Regions from separate parts of the Homo sapiens genome. Here region 1 is linked to region 2. The links are contacts of gene promoters, found by promoter capture Hi-C in human tissues and cell types (Jung and others, 2019). All regions are on one chromosome and are shown on one strand. The core of a region is centred on a gene start or on the middle of the fragment in contact, and the rest is flanking DNA. Distances in the headings are between cores, read along the strand shown. Region 1 has its middle 290 kb from the start of TFAP2C. Region 2 holds the start of TFAP2C (transcription factor AP-2 gamma).

The links. Contacts are between HindIII fragments. The study calls those that stand out against the background at their distance.
Region 1: a contact is called between a fragment that was not itself captured here and the fragment with the promoter of TFAP2C in region 2, in 1 of the 25 tissues and cell types used here (spleen).

The regions. Positions count from the first base shown.
Region 1 is chr20:56,913,804-56,917,976 of GRCh38, forward strand. No RefSeq gene overlaps it. Among named protein-coding and RNA genes, the nearest start is that of TFAP2C, 290 kb to the left of the region's middle. The HindIII fragment of the contact is 7,048 bases long and covers 1-4,173 here.
Region 2 is chr20:56,626,886-56,631,030 of GRCh38, forward strand. It overlaps TFAP2C (transcription factor AP-2 gamma), which reads left to right and starts at 2,421. Exons shown (of 7, transcript NM_003222.4): 1 at 2,421-2,707. The coding sequence starts at 2,660. RefSeq lists an enhancer at 208-968 and silencers at 2,332-2,391, 2,448-2,742. The HindIII fragment of the contact is 13,903 bases long and covers 1-4,145 here.

The DNA.
Region 1 (4,173 bases), core at 11-2,510, 290 kb after region 2:
ATCTGATTCATCAAACTGACCTCCGCTGTCCCAGAACCAAGCTTGGAAATTTGTGTGGTTGGGCATCAATTTAGTGAGCACCTGCTGGGTTAAAAAAAAATTAACAATTTATTTTTACCTTTCCTTTTAAGAGAATTTAAAGACACTTGAAGAATACATAAAATAAAAGAAAGAAACCTAAATTAGAAGTTGGGGGAAAAAAGAAAATAGAGAAACATATAAAATATAAAAGAAAATAAATAAAAATATAAGATAAAGCCGGGAAGAAGGCTACATAAACATGCTGCGGTAGGCAGAATAGTGGCCCTCAGAAGATTCCATGTCCTAATCCTTGGAACCTGTGAATATGTCACCTTACATGGCAAAAGGACTTTGCAGATGTAATTAAATTAAGTCTTGAGATGAGGAGATTATCCTGGATTATCTGCATGGACTCTATGTAATTACAAGGGCCTCCTTTTTTTTTTTTTTCTTTAGACAGAGTCTCACTCTGTTGCCCAGGCTGGAGTGCAATAGCACAATCTTGGCTCACTGCAACCTCTGCCTCCCAGGTTCAAGCAATGCTCATGCCTCAGCTTCCCAAGTAGCTGGAATTACAGGCACGCACCCCCACACCTGGCTAGTTTTTTGTATTTATGGTAGAGACAGGTTTTGCCATGTTGGCCAAGCTGGTCTTGAACTCCTGACATCAACTGATTCCCCCCACCTTGGCCTCCCAAAGTGCAGGGATTACAGGCGTGAGCCACCACACTTGGCTCATAAGGGTCTCTATACAAGAGAGACAGAAGTGTCAGTGAAAGAGAAAGACTGAAGGAGACTAATCTACAAGCTTTTTCTGTAAAGGGCCAGATAGACCACATGTGACATTAGCCGTGGTCAGTGCATCATGAATGGGCTAGCTGTGTGCCAATAAAACTTTATTTACAAAAGCAGACAGCTGGCAGGATTTGGCCCCGGGACTGTGGTTTGCCAAACACTGCTTTCTACAATGTGTTTCTGAAACACACTTGATGACAGAAGAGTCGGTGAGAGGGACAGAGGGAGACTGGAGGATGCTACGCTGCTGGCTTTGAAGATGGAGGAGCAGGCTGTAAGAAAAAAACTTTTAAAAACCTGCAAAAGAGCAGGTGCCTCCAGAAGCTAGAAAAGATGAGGAAACGAATTCTCTAGAGCCTCCAGAAGGGATGCAGTCCTGCCAACACCTTGATTTTAGCTCCCCAAGACTTATTTTGGACTTCTGACTTCTAAGACTGTGGGATAATAAATTTGTGGTTTTCTAAGCCACTGTGTTTGTGGTAACTTGTTACAGTCATTGGAAACTAATGCCCATACGCTAGATGGTCTTGGAGACCAATACTGAACAAATTCAGCTCTCAGTAGCCATCCACTCAGAGTGAAGCCCCACTAGTTTTGTGACCCACAAAGTACAACAGATGAAAGAGCAACATAATTTAGGCCCCAAAAGAAATTTTCACTAAGCGTTCTCACAGCAACAGCATCATTCCTGGTGAGCATTCAGATGGTGGGAGCAGAGGCCCCAACTGTTCTGAAGAAGGCCCTCAAGGGTGAGGGGTCTTCCACAGCCGCCTTCGCCTTTGGCTGCCCACCTGGACCACCCAGATGAGGAAAGATGATTTATTAACCAATTATGGAAATGAAGCCAACTCAAATGAAAATGTTTTCCCTTGAATCCTTTTTTGTTTTCCTAATGAAAAACTAACATCTACAAAAAATATTCGAACAGTAGAGAGGTATAAGAGCAGGGGATATGAGGCTTTATCTGTAAAGGGCCAGACAGACCACACGTGACAGCAGCCATGGTCAATGCATCACCAATGGGCTGGCTGTGTGCCAATAAAACTTTATTTGCAAAAGCAGACAGGTGGCAGGATTCGGCCCAGGACTTCGATTTGCCGACTCCTGCTTTACACAATGTATTTCGGAAGCACACTTGATTACTCAAGATTACTCAAGAGTTCTCAATTATCTGGATAATTTTGCCAACCCCTGATGTGGAGCAAAAATATAATTCTCTTCTTTCCTCTGGGTCAACCACTGGGACCACTCCTTGAGCATCATTCAGAAGATTCTAGGCATATAGAAGCAGCTGCAGTCCCCCGCCCTGCCTTCTCTTATTACACCGATGGAAGCACATAGCACTTAAAAAATGCCACAGGGGGCCAGGTGCAGTGGCTCATTCCTGTAATCCCAGCACTTGGGAGGCCAAGGTGGGTGGATCACTTGAGGTCAGAAGTTCAAGATCAGCCTGGCCAACATGGTGAAACCCTGTCTCTACTAAAAATACAAAAATTAGCTGGGTGTGGGGGCGCAAACTGTAACCCCGGCTTCTAGGGAGGCTGAGGCAGGAGAATTGCTTGAACCCAGGAGGCAGAGTTTGCAGTGAGCTGAGATCACGCAACTGCACTCCAGCCTGGGTGACAGAGTGAGACTCCATCTCAAAAAAAAAAAAAAAAAAAAAAAAGAGTGCCACATGCTCTTTTTCCCATGATGAGATTTCTCCACACTTTTCCCGTCATGAGATTTCTGCACACTCACCTGTCCAAATGGCTCCTGGACGTCTAATAACCACTCACTGTGCAAAGCCATGGGGTCAAGGCATCCTCCACCCCCACCGTGCTTTGGCCACCTTTCCCTGGAGAGCCAGCGAGGCGGGACAAAAAGAGAGCTGGGATCCAGTGAGGGTTCTGCCACATAGTGGGTAACGGTTCCAAGAACTGACTTGGAGACACACTTGCTGTGTGACCTTGGTCACGTTGACCAAACGCCCCGTTTGTCATCATGAAGAAACGTCTCGTTTCTTCATCTATTACATGGCAGCAATGATACCCAAAATGAGTTTGCAGAAGACTGTTTGAAAAGTGCCTAGCAAACGTGCGTGACCCAGGGAAGGTGCCCGGTGACACAGTGGTTGGGAATGTACTCTTGTGTTCTCCTGACATCAGGCAACTGGGGCTCCTTAAAGGAGTTGACCGTGGTGAAAAAGCCACACTAGCCACTGACTTGCTGTGTGGCTTTGGGTAAGTAACTTAACTTCTCTGAGGCTGAGTCTATATCTGGAAATGGGGTGATCATTTTAGCTATCACTTGTTGTAAGGGCTCAGTACAAAGTTGCCAGATAAAATACAGGACACCAATTAAATCTGAATTTCAGATAAGCGATGATTTTTTTTTTAAATTCATAAGTCCCAACTTTTCATTTGCTCCACCTGGCAGCCGTATTTCAGTAAGAAGATTCATGTGGAGCGTCTGGCTCAGTGCCTGGTCTGTCATGGGAACTTAAAAGGTAGTCCTTTTACATTCTGATTTTGCATGTTATCAGCAAATGGGGTTATGTCTCTCACTCCTTACCTACCCTGATCGTTGTGAGAATTGGACCAAGTAAGGTCCCGAAACCAAGGCCCTGTAGTCCAGCTTCCTGCTCCCTGACAGCCATTCTTATTCTTATTTTTATTATTCCTTGTTCTCCCCATCCTTGAATGCCATTGGCGCACAACTGAATAAAGCCAGTTTCCCAGGCTCCAGCCCTCCCTCTCTCTTTCTGTTGAAGGCTCCCTCCTGCTTCTGAAAGGGGGTTTCCGGCAGAGGAGCACCCCTCAGGCTGAGTAGGAGGGGCAGCCCCCTCTCAACTCTGCCTGCTTTGGAGGGTCTGGCTTCAAAGACCTGGAGATGGCACTAAAGGTAAGAGAGTTTTGAAAATACTTGTTCCCATAGATTCTGTTTTATCTGAGAAAATCCTCCCTCCTCCACCCTCGTATTCCCGGGACCGTCCTCTTCCCACAATCTGCCTCTTCTTGGGATCCGTCTTCCTTCTCCCACTCCAGCACCAGCCACCTGTAGCCTGCAAAGCAGCAGAGATTCTACTTCATTTTCCATTCTTTCATATTGGTTTATTTTATTTCACTTAATTTTTTTGGTTACCTTTTCATTTAATTCATGTATCTTTTAAACAAAAAAACACAGGCACACAATTTTAAAAGTCAAAAATACTCAAAATTTATAACAACAGGACCAACAGAACATTTTCCTGTTTCTGCCCTCCCCAGTCCCAATTCCCATTCCCTAGAACCAACTAAGGTGGACTCCCTTTGCCGTTTCCTGTGGATGGTCACTTTCTAACATAACCTATACTGCTATTTTATGCTCTCTCGGGTT
Region 2 (4,145 bases), core at 1,171-3,670:
CTGTCTTGGATGCTGGAGCCTTCGGTTCCCGGCTCTGCTGAGCAGAAAAGTTGAAGTCAAGGAAGGGTTGAGGCTTCCTCACAAGGGCGCGCGCGTGCCTGGGTGCCGGCCCAGAAGCCGAGAATGTGCGTATTGGGGAAGGGTCTCCCGTGCCGAGAAGACAGAGGATTTGTTCTAGCTGCCTTCCGTACAGAGGGCGCGGAGGTTGCGCTCCAGTTCGAACGCTTACCCATTGGAAAGAGGGCAGCGCCGGGGTCCAGGGAAGCTCCTTGGGAATGAATGGCCTTTGCCAAGCGGTTCCGGATCCTCTGGGTCCTTTGGGCCCACGGCACGGTGCTGCGCGAGCCCTCAGTGCCCATCGGCTCCCTTCGCCTCCTGCGTAGACGCTCCCAGGCGGGGAGGCATATCGGTTCCTCCGGGCAGCTTTGGCTAGTGTTGCTGTGGGAAAGGAGAGCCAGGGCCTGGGATGGGGGATGAGCACCTTCTTGCCCATTCCGGGCCCCAGCGTGCAGGAGGTAAACTTGCCAGCACAGACAAGACAGCTTGTTCAAGCTGCACCTCAGGCCGGGTCAGAGAATAAAACCGAGGGCTAGAAGGCCCAGAATGTCGGACAGCCCAGCGGCACCCGTCAGGGAGTCCCAGGCGCCCGAAAGAGGCGCCGCACCTCTGGCGAGTCTAGGACCCATCTTCCTGGACCTGTGCTCTGGAGTGCCTGCGGGCCTGGGTCTAATTTCTGCTTCTGGCAGGTGTCCCCCTCCCCCGCCGCTAATACCAGGAGCGCTGCTTCTGCGGTAACTTATTTTACCCCCAGAAGCCTGTTTTGGGACCGAAGTGTCAGGGTCCTGTGTGTCTTTTTATGCACTGTTCTCCTTAGTGCAAAGCCCTGCAGATATGCTTGGCCGAAAAGTCTCAGTGGTTTCAACTTCCAGATTTTGTTCCCGCGTCCGGTCGGAAAATCACCTGGGATTTGGCTGCTGTCTAAGGCCGGGGGAAAGTTTCCCTTGGAGGACGCCTATTATTATTATTTTCTTTTAGGCCCACCTGGGTCTAAATAAATGCTAAAGTTCAAACGAACCCGAGAAGGAACAGCGAGGCAGTGGATGCCGCCATTCCGTGGATGGGAGAGTCATGTCTACTGCAGGTGCGGACACCGTACTGATAGGCATTGATTATTGCAAAATCGTATTCAGTATCAAATAGAAATAGTCTTGTCCTCTAATCCCCACAGAATGTTTAAATCCAGCCCAGGGAGCCAGTTGGGGCGTCCCAACAAATACGCCCTCGAGAATTAGCGATGTTCCCCTTACAATGAAAGTCAATTGCTGCATAATAACTGGGCCAAAGAATTTCGTTAGTTTAAATTTTAAAAATTAGTATTGCACTTTGCTTTCAAGTTTGGGTGGCAAGTACCGAAGGGGAGAGGGAAGCAGCGTTTGTGTGGAAGGAAGTTTCGTTTTCTGTCTAAACATGTGGGACCTGGGTGTCTACCTCTCCAGTCGAGAGCTCTCTGCAGGCTCTCTCCCAACTTCCTGCACCTCCTCACCCTCACCTTACCCGTGGCGCTCGGGTTTTATTCCTGCCCGGCGCTTCTTTCCCAGGGCGAGTAGAGGCTTCTGAGTGACCGGCCCGCCAGAGGCAGCTGCAGAGCCGGCGTTCCGCAGGGCAGGGCAGGGCCGGGCCGCTGGGCTGGTCCAGTGCGCGCGGGTTCCCCCTGGCCTCAGCCAGCCGCGGGAGATGCCACTTCGGGCGACAGCGGCGAGACGCCGCTGTCCGCAACTCCTGGGCGGGTAGGACCGTCTGCTGCCTCTGCGGCCCTTGGGGCAGACTCCCCAGGAGTCCCTTCCTCTCTCCTCCCGCCCGGGGGCCGGGACCGCGCTGTGCCCACGGAGGGAACTGGGCGTCTCTGGCGCACTGGGGCTCCAGCTGCATGATCCCAGCTCAGACCTTAAGCCTCAGTGGGGTGTAGGTGGGATGGGATGTGTTTTTAGGAGATGAGGAGACCCCGGTTGTTGAGTCGCTCCCCAAATGCGCAGTTTCTTAACTCCAGGTGACATCCGTCTTTTGGAGGAACGAGTGAAGGCCGTTTAGGCGAAAGAGGGGTGGGTTTCAGTATTTGGATCCCTTCCCCCAGCTCTGCCAATCTCAGGTGTGTTTACGGTGGAGGTGACAGAAGGAAGGCGCGTCGGGGGACCCAGGCCTCGCAGGTCTTCGGCTGTCAACGAGGCACCGCCCACTGACTCCGCGCTTCGTCCCTCACAGCGTGGGGCTCGGCGCTGCGCCAGGCCCGGGTGCGGGGCGGAGCTAGGCTGGGACTGGCTGGGGGCCGCCCCGCCCGGCGCCTGGGCCTCCGCGCCGGCCCCCGGGGAGGAGTTATGATAATTTCCTTCTCATTAAGGCGCTCGGGTCCCCCGGCTATCGCCAGGACACACTGTTCGGGCGCGGCTTTCCCCGTCCGCGGAGCGGTCTTGACACTCGCGGCGGCAGCATCTACGCTCGCAGAGCCGCCGATGCGTGTCCAGTGACCCGGACAGCAAGGCCCGCGCGCGGCGGGGGCGGCGGCAGACGCCTGGTCACCGTGACCCCGATTTTGGATTTACCGCTTGGGGGCTGGGGGGATCCTGGATTTAACTGGCGACTGTTTTGGGGGACGCCGGACGCCATGTTGTGGAAAATAACCGATAATGTCAAGTACGAAGAGGACTGCGAGGTGAGCTGGGGCTCCGGGGTGCAGCCCCGCCCCGCCGAGGACAGTCCGGGAGGCAGGGGCCACTGGACCGAGGTCGGGGACGAGGGCATAGGAGCCCTGGCCTCTCGGTGGGACGGGATCCACTTCTCCGGACACCCCTTAGTCCATTTCTGCGGGGCCCCTTTCCTGTATAGGGCCTTTTCCTAAATAGCCTCCCCTCGGGAACGAGGCCTGGAAAGAGAATGGCAAATCCCACCCACACAGCTTACCGGGCGCTTTCCTAAGCGGCAAACAGCCCTGCTTCCCGTTTTCTCGGAAAAGTGCCCCGTCTGCAACCCTCAGACGTGGCTTTTACGCACGAAGTCTCTGTCCAAAGGGGTCAGATGAGGCTACCTGCTAGCGACACCTTGGCGGACACTCCTCCAAGGCCGGCTTGTCACCTGCCCCGCTACCTCCTCGGGGAAGCACGAAAACAACCGAAGTTTGGCTTTCAAAAGAAGTGGGGGCTGGGGAGTGGTGGTGGGGGTGCCCGAGGCCAGATGGGGCCGTAAGAGCTCGCGAGTGCTCCAGCCTGTCGGACAGGTTGAGCTAGAGTTTCGGAGAGTGGGAGGGAAGAAGGAGGCGGCGAGCGGGAAGAGGAAGAAGACGCAGGCAGCGCTAGGCGAGCTCAGGGGCGCCGGGAGCGCGGAGCTCGGGCTACGGACTCGCGGGAGTTCACTGCGCCTCCGGGCCCTGGAGGGCTGCCCCTGCCCGCAGGCCCGGGCGCTTCCGCCAGGAGGCGACAGCGCCATGTTCCTCCAGGTTCCCGGCGCCCCGAGACCCCTGGGCAGATGGGGACGCATCCTTTAGAAACTGAGTCGGGCCGCCCAGGGGCGAGGGAACGTGCGCGGGCAAGGCTGCCCAATTTCCAGGGTTCTTCATGCCCCCTCTGCGCCCCGACGTGCGAGAACACTGCCCTTGGCAGTGCAGGGCGCCCCCACTTATTACTCCCCTCGGCTGGGCCCGGCCAGCAGGGAGGGCCGCCCTGTGCGCGCGCTCCCTCTTCACTTCCCAGGGCGGCGCAGGGTGGCGGGCCCTGCTTTCCGAGCGCCGCCCGCTCGGAGGTCTTTGTCCCGAGGGCGTGGAAGGGAGGGTCCCGGGGGCGGGGGAGGTGCGCATTTCCCGCGCCGCGCACTCTATCCGCGCCTGCCGCGCTGCCACCTCCAGCAGTCCCTGCGTCATGGGCGGGCTCCACGAGATAGCTCTGCACCGGGCGTCCGGCTCCTTCGCCCCGGGCTCTGGCTCCTTCGCCCCGGGCTCCGGCCACGGACTTTTCTGGCCCAAGACCCAGGGTTCGGACTTGGCGCCTCCAAGCGCCTCGGGCTTGGGAGCAGCGCCTAGACCTTCGCCGCCGGGCTTTGAGAACTCGTTCCCCCAGGTCTTTCACCAGACTCTCCTCCCTCCCCGCACTCTTTGCTTA